Regions from separate parts of the Homo sapiens genome. Here region 1 is linked to region 2. The links are contacts of gene promoters, found by promoter capture Hi-C in human tissues and cell types (Jung and others, 2019). All regions are on one chromosome and are shown on one strand. Each heading gives the region's core, a stretch centred on a gene start or on the middle of the fragment in contact. The rest is flanking DNA. Distances are from core to core; before and after follow the strand shown.

The links. The method cuts DNA at HindIII sites, captures the fragments that hold promoters and counts their contacts. A contact is called where the count stands out against the background at its distance.
Region 1: a fragment that was not itself captured here is called in contact with the fragment with the promoter of HOXA2 in region 2 in 1 of the 25 tissues and cell types used here (mesenchymal stem cells).

Annotation. Positions count from the first base shown.
Region 1 is chr7:26,349,822-26,354,113 of GRCh38, forward strand. All of the region lies in intron 2 of SNX10 (sorting nexin 10), which reads left to right. Among named protein-coding and RNA genes, the nearest start is that of LINC02981, 47 kb to the right of the region's middle. The HindIII fragment of the contact is 3,338 bases long and covers 1,236-4,292 here.
Region 2 is chr7:27,101,404-27,105,211 of GRCh38, forward strand. HOXA2 (homeobox A2) reads right to left here and starts at 1,280. Exons shown (of 2, transcript NM_006735.4): 1 at 707-1,280; 2 at 1-62. The coding sequence starts at 1,097. RefSeq lists an enhancer at 1,115-1,954. The HindIII fragment of the contact is 9,606 bases long and covers 1-3,808 here.

The DNA.
Region 1 (4,292 bases), core at 1,655-4,154, 750 kb before region 2:
TTCTACACTACTCAGGATGCTTGCCTCAGCCTTGCTGAACTCATCTTGTGGGGTGTATGAGTGAGCATTTGCTCCAGCTGCACACAGTCCCTTTCATGGAGTCGGACATTCTTGCCCAAGCGCCTGCTCCCTCCTCCATAAGGGCACTGGGCTCTTTCCTTGGCACAGGGCTCACTTGGTGTAACTAGACTGTTCCTCCCTGTGTGATGTGACCTGAAGTGTGGGCTGAAACCCCTTTTGAATGTATGTGTGCATGCGTGCATATCTCCCCTGCTCTCCTGGATCATGATGGCTGCATTCTACTTTTAGAGATTCATCCCTTTAGGATAACTGATTTTCCCCTTCCCAAATGCACATGCTTCATACTAGGTATAACAGCAGCTTCTAGGCAACTCCAGTTATTGACACCTTAGCGATGATATATCCATCACTTCTTTGGCAGGGAATATCCTGAGTAGGACAGGCCGAAGTGGGCCCCAGAGAGTTGCACAAACCATGAGGACCCCACCACTGAGGGAGGAGATGGGGCACTATGGGGAGAGCCGGCAGGGAGGGATGTGTTGCCATTTTGGATGAGCAGCCCCTAAGGTTAATATTAATATGTCTAAGATATGCTTATGCTGACCCATGGTAATATTTTGGACTTCCTCTAGGAAAGCATGCTTTTGATATTCGGAAACTGACTGGAAACTGACTGGTCTGGAACTGATGAATACCTTTAACAAATAAATAATATTAGCTAGGATCCTGTGATGCTGGGTACTTTGATGGGAAGCAACAAGACAGAACATTTTCTCACTCCCCAAAACCTAAATTTGTTGTTCCTCTCTCCCTCCTTTCTTCCTCCCTTTTTCCCCTCCCACCCTCCCTCCCTCCATTTTTCTCAGTCTCTGTTATACTCAGTTATTAAGTGTTCCTGTTTGAAAAAATAGTTAAGTTTCCATAAGAGGCAATTTACAGTCTTCTGTAAGCAAAGAAAGGCAGCTGGGAATATTGTCTTCACACATACACACCAGGTTTCAGAGAAGGCTGTTACCATTCTGAGCGCTACATTAGTGTTACAGGTACTGTGAGGACTCTGATATTTTTTTCTGAGCTTGTCCCAGAGAAAGATCTTCATTCCTTTTTTTTTTCTTAACTCTTCTTCCAGATTTTAAAATAATTGTTCACTGCAGAACATTTTTGGAAAAGTATACAGGAAAAAATAAAACTTTGAGCTATTTCTTTCTAGTCTTTTTCTATATATATGTATATGTCATTTTTAGAAAATTGAGATCATACAGAATTTATAGTTTAATATCTCACTCTTCCAGCTCAGTGTTCTAACACATTTCAAGAAATACTTCACCAGCTCTGATTAAATTAGAAGTGGCTTAGGAAAAGAAAGAATTAGTAAACATAAATTCATCTTTGAATTGTTAAGAAATGAACAAAGAATAACTTTACAGTGGAGAAATCTGACAAACACTTCCTCAGCCAGGTGATCACTGTTAACACCCACAGTGATGTTATGTTGCTAGCATGTGGAAGTGATATCACCTGGAAGTGATAAAAATGGCACTTTACCCTCTGAAATAGGTAGCCTTCCTTCCAAAAACCTATAACACCAATCTAATCATGAGACAAACATCAGACAAATCTGCAGAATACCTGCGAGGGCTCCTCAAATTGTCAAGGTCATGAAAAACAAGGAATGCCTGAGAAGCTGTCATAGCCAAGAGGAGCCCAAGGAAACACAATGACCAAATATAATGTATCTCGAGTGGGATCCTGGAACAACAGATTAATGACATTAGGTGAAAACTAAAGCAATCAAGCAGTCTGGTTTTTTTTTTTTGTTTTTTTTTTTTTTTGAGACCGAGTCTCTCTCTGTCGCCCAGGCTGGAGTGCAGTGGTGCGATCTCGACTCACTGCAAGCTCCACCTCCCGGGTTCACACCATTCTCCTGCCTCAGCCTCCTGAGTAGCTGGGACTACAGGTGCCTGCCACCACGCCCAGCCAATTTTTTGTATTTTTAGTAGAGGCGGGGTTTCACCATGTTAGCCAGGATGGTCTAGATCTCCTGACCTCGTGATCCGCCCGCCTCGGCCTCCCAAAGTGCTGGGATTACAGGTGTGAGCCACTGTGCCCGACCAGCAATCTTAATGAAGTATGGACTTCAGTTAATAATAACATGTCAATATTGATTAATGAATTGTTACAAAGGCAGCATGCTAATATAAAATGTTAATAATAGGGGAAGCTGGGTGTGGGATATGTAGGACCACTCTGTACTATCTTCATAATTTCTCTATATCTAAAACTGTTTAAAATAAAAAGTTTATTTTAAAACAAATATCATTGACATATATATGCTCACATAAAAAGATTCTGAAAGATTGTATAGTGAATAAACCAATAAACAAAATAGTATTTATAAATGTAGGTTATGCTCCTGTTTGTGTTAAAAAATTGCATAAAGCTGGGTGTGTTGGTGCATGCATGTAATTCCAGCTACTTGGCCAAGGCGAGATCACTTGAGCCCAGGAGTTCAAGGCTGCATTGAGCGATCATCAATAGCCACAACATTCCACCCTATGCAATGGAGTAAGACCTTGCCTCTTCAACCCCCAAAACAAAAAAATACGCAAGGTAGAGATGATAATAAAATGAACCCCCATATGTGTACCTACCAACCAGCTTCAACAATTTACTAACTCATTATTAACTCATAGCCGAGCTATATCCCCACCCCACCTATTTCCTCCTGCTACCACAGTCAATTATTTGGAAACAAATTCTAGATATTATATAATTTCATCTGTAAATATTTCAGTATGCATTTCTAACAAATGACCTTTTTAAAAAATGAACCACATAATCACATGTTAAATAATTAAACAATTCCTTCATATCATCAAATATTCAATGTGCAAATTACCTTGATTATTTTGAAAAAAATTATATACTTGGTTGTTCTAATTCTCTATTTAATTAGGATTCAGATAAGGACCACACATTGCATTTGGTTGATACATTGTTTAAAGTCTTTAATTCTCTCTTTTCCCCCTTTTGCAATTTATTTGTGGAAGAAATTGCATCTTTTGCCTTATGGAGGTTTTCACATTCTAGATTTTGCTGATTGCATCCTTGTGGATGCCAATTATTTCTTACTGCAGAAGAGGAGGTTTTTTTTTTCTGCACTTTTCCTGATGTGTTACAAGATATGAAAAGGTAACTCGCTGATTTGGGATACTACTTGTGTAAAGAAACTTGCAACATTGTGAGCTATTATAAGTCATGTAAAAGGCAGGTCTAGCTAAATCTCATTCACAGTTGTTTATCCTGAAGTAATAAAAGCTTCTCAAAAAATCATCATTCAGTACCACCAGAGGATGGTATTTAAACATACTCCATGCTGTAGAGTGGCAAGTAATATCCCTTGTCATATGTCTCTTAAGTTATTTGTTACAGCTGTTATTAGGAAATAAAGAAAGGTTGCTTGATATATTCCTTTTGCCCTTCTATTTTGTTATTTGTAAAGAATATAGTATATGAAATGTGCTAGATTTTAGTTGTGAAATTGTTATATGGGGGTCCTGAATAGCACTCTGGTGATTAACACACTGGTAAATGCTTTTTTTTTTTTTTTTTTTTTTTGGTGGGGAGACAGAGTCTTGGTCTGTCGGCCAGGCTGGAGTGCAGTGGCACGATCTCAGTTGCTCACTGCAACCTCCGCCTCCCAGACTCACGCAATTCTCCTGCCTCAGCCTCCCGAGTAGCTGGGATTACAAGTGTGTGCCACCACACCTGGCTAATTTTTGTATTTTTAGCAGAGACGGGGTTTCACCATGTTGGCCAGGCTGTTCTCAAACTCCTCACCTCAGGTAATCTGCCTGCCTTGGCCTCCCAAAGTGCTGGGATTATAGGCTTGAGCCACCACGCCCAGCCCACACTGGTAAATTCTATAATCATTAGTTGTATGGAAAAGTACCTAGCGCATTGTTGTTGCACAATATATTTTAAGTGAATGAATGAGTCTCCAGTGTAAATACATGAACATGTAAAACACTACTTTGAAATAGGAAAAAAAATGTCCCAAGAAAAAGAACAAACTGAGACAAGTTTACATTTTTATGTTAGAAAATTCTCATCAAAGCTATGAAAAATTAGTATTCACTTAACACCTAGACATTCTGCTTTATTAGCTTTCGTCTTTTGTGATCTTTCTGTAATCTAAGTAAATATTTTTACAGTTAACACCTACTCATCTTTACTGTGCTACAAAGATTCAAACTAAGCTATGATGGAAA
Region 2 (3,808 bases), core at 30-2,529:
GGTGTAAGCAGTTCTCAGGCGCCGCGATCCCCCGCCGCTGCCATCGGCGATTTCCAGGGATTCTGCGGAAAGGGAAACCAACAAGAGACACACGCACAGTTGGAGGTGGAGGGGTCCGAGCGGGGTTATTCCACTGGAGAATAAATATAGCAGAAAAGATCAACTGCAACAAAATGGCCGCCCCTGGATGCAGTAGAGCTATTGTGCTGCCTTTCCTGGGAGCCCAGCCTGGGCAGACCCCGTCTCCTCCATCTCTATCGAATTCATGCCTGTGGCTCCCCCCAACCTCTTCATCCGGGAGCAAACTTTATATTAGCCACAACACAATTTATAATTAATGCGTCAGCTGCTTAGCTGAGCAAGAGCGATCTATCACTCTTCATTACTGTCAAAAAGCCAAACTCTAGGACAACTAGACAGGAGGAGGTCAGTTCCAACTCAAATAAATCATCCCACATTACACAAGTTCGGGAAAGTTTCCCCCCACTTCCTAAAAATATATATGTCTCATTGTAGAGCGCAGGATCCCCTTTCCTCTCCATCAAACCCACTCCTGAACCCACAGGGGCAGGGACAAGGCAACCAAGCATCTCTCCCTCTCCTCCTTCTCTCCCAGCCCACTCTCCCCTCCCCCCACAGCCACTCTCGGGGCAGCCCGGAGAAGGAAGAGGGTCCCAGAGACCTGGGGCCAAGTCTTTGGACTGACCTTTGTGGCTGAGGCAAGCAGGGCCGGTGGCTGCGGCGGTGGCGGCGGCGGCGGCGGCCGGCAGAAGTGCGGTTTTCTTGGCCGCCTTCTTCTCCTTCATCCAGGGGTACTCGGGCGGCTGCAGGGCGCCGGCGGGCACCGGGCTGCCGCGGCTGCCCGCGGGGCTCGGCTTGGGGCGGCCGCCAGCGCCGTGGCGAGGGTGACTGCCGGGGTTCAGGCTGGGAATGGTCTGCTCAAAAGGAGGAGGAATCAGTGTCGAGTGTGAAAGCGTCGAGGTCTTGATTGATGAACTTTGAAATGTATCAGCGACAGGGGGAAAAGATGTCAGGCACTCAGCGAGCGACGGCTGGCTATTGATAAAACCAATCTCTCGCTCAAATTCGTAATTCATGGCCTTCTCCTTGGAGCCCCCTCAGAGAAAAAGTTCCCTCTTTTGGAGGGGCTTTGGGGGGGCAAGGCCTAGGAAAAAGGCGAGCGCAGAGGAAAAAAAATCTATCATAGAATATCGCTGCTAGGGTGTTTTTTTTCTAATTCACTGATTACAGCCGTATGGGGACCGCGCTACTATTAAACTATTGAATTCATGGAGACAAGGTTGAAATTGGACCGAATTGGCTGTCACATGATTGCTTCTGCCCAATGACAATTTGGGCTTTAATCAAAAGAAGCCACTGTCTGTTTGATTGATCCAAAAAAGTCGGGAAGGAACGCCTCATTGGGGGCCAGCGAGGCTTTATTTACACTTTTTTCAGAGCAAAAATACATATATGTTGGTGTGGGTGGGGATGTCCCGGAGTACGTGGGGGCGAGGGTGCCTGCGTGCCTCCTGATCTGCAAGGATCTATCTAGTGTGTGTGCCTGGGAGTGTGTGTGTGTGTGTGTGAATGTGCGCGAGTGTAAGCCCTGCTGTCGGTCCCGCCGGTGGCTGCCCTCTGCCTCCCCCGCACACTCCGCGCATTGTTTGGGACTGTCGGGAAGACGCCTCGCACCTCACAAATCATTTAAGCACCTCAGTCTGACGCCTGCAGTCATTAACAAAGTAATCCATTAATCTTCAAAGTTTTGACACCCGAGGGCCCTGCGTCCCAGCCACATAAGTTCTGTTAAAGCAGGAGAAAGGAGCAGAGGAAGAGAGGAGATGAGAGAGGGAGAATAAAGAGAGAGGGAAGAAGAGAGAGTTTGAGAGATGGAGAAAGAGAAGACAGAAAAGAGAGAAGAAAGGAAAGATTTTGGTTGGGAAGGGGTCTTCCTTTTCTTTCCCTTTTCCTCCTTCACTTTTCCTAAAAGCAGTTCCTGGATCTCAAAACTGATCTCTCTCGGTCTGTTTTCCTTCCTGTCTGTCCCTTTCCCTCTTTTTCCTCTTCTCCCCCTTTCTCCCTCCCTCTCTCTTCTGTCCGCCTCCCCTTCTCCCCTCAGCCTCTCGCCCCCCTCCCAGTGTCCAGCCCAGAGTCTGCGCCCCGGGCCCATTGTTAGCAGGCTATTCCACGGCAGCTTTGCATCTGGCTCCGGCGGGAAGCGGAAAACGGGAGGCGGCTCTCGAAGCTTCCCGACCTTCCTGCGCCATCAACTTCTCAGGAGTGGCTGGAGAAAGATGCATGTGCCAAGCGAGACAACAACCCCAGGTCCATGTGTCCAAATCCCCGTAGCCAGGGCGGCGGCCAGCCAAAGAAATGCCGCCCCGAGCAGGCGCGTGCGGCTCCTGGCATTCTGGGTTTCATACCCGTAGGGCTCGGGTGCGGTGAGTATTTCCGATTTCCAGGAAGTCTGTTGGAAGTTACCAGCAGGGAAAGAGAAGATGCTTGCTCCTCTCTTTCCCTCCCTCTCTCTTTTTTTTCTACCCTTCTTCTTGTCCTTGTCGCTCTGGTTGGGGGCTGGTTGGTTTAGATACAGCGAGTGCTCCCTGGCAGCCTGAACTGCCTCCCACACCTTCCTGATCCTTGGGCACCGGGGATGTTTGCTTCCGGGTTCTGTTGTGGGAAACAGCACTGCGGGGGAGAGGAGGCGACCCAAGGAGGAATTATAAAGGTTTTCGTTCTCCTTCATTATCTTTTTTCCAATTCGGAGACTTGAGACTGAGCGCATCTTGGACAGTGCTAGAGGGTTCAAAAGATAACACCTTTAGGTACCAAAAAATAATTTTTAAAAAATCCACCAAGCCAGAAAGAGGTGAGGAGGCTGAGAGGTAGATCTGGAGGTACCTCTTTCCCCCCCAAACCCTGAGGATGGTGATTCGCTTTTGCTTCCTTTGAAATAGACTAACTGATCAGACTCCCCCAGGCCGGCAGGCATCAATGGCAGGAAAATAAATCATTCTGATGGTCAGGGAGAGAGAGGTTGGAGGGGGAGAAAAATCTACGTAGAAAACAAGAAAGGCCAACCAAGGAGCAAAGGCAGGACCCCATCTCTGAGGCCAGCGTCAAAGAGGGTTTGGGGTGGAAATTAGACATAAGTGGCCTATATCATTGACCAGCCCAGAGCATTGCCTTGCAGATAGAGATGCTATTTTGGAAAATGTGAGGTTTTTTAGTTTTCTTGCTTTTATTCCAAACAAAGCTCCAAAGGAAGTCTGGGCGCGATCAATCTTGCTCACCAAAAGCCTTGACAGCTTCTAGCCCTTAAGAACACATTTCAGCTTCCAGCTCCTTCCAAGATAAAATGTGGCCGAGCAAAGAGGAGAGCAGGAAATGCAAGTAAATAAGGAAAACTAGTCTTTTAAAAAATATATTTTGGCAGTGAAAAGGGTTATAGGGCTCCTTTTAGGAAGGGTGCTTTGCGAACCCTGGGATGGCAGCTTTTGGCATCTGCTTTTACCAGAAAATATTACAGGCTTAAGGGAACGTGGGCGGGGGGTGCAGAGAGGGAGCAGCGCTGCCCCCATATCTCTGAGGCTTTGTCAGGGGCTGCGTGGGTGAGAGCTTTCTGCTGCCTCAGCCGCCTTAATTCAAATACCATCTGGAAGAAAACCCTTTTCTTTGACCACTCAACACTGAAATCTTCCCCAAATCTATTACTTTAACTTATGAGATATTTTAATAAGGATTTCTTTTTAATATCTAGGAAACTGGGGGGTGAAGTCAATACTTTTTTCTTTGAAAGCCAAAA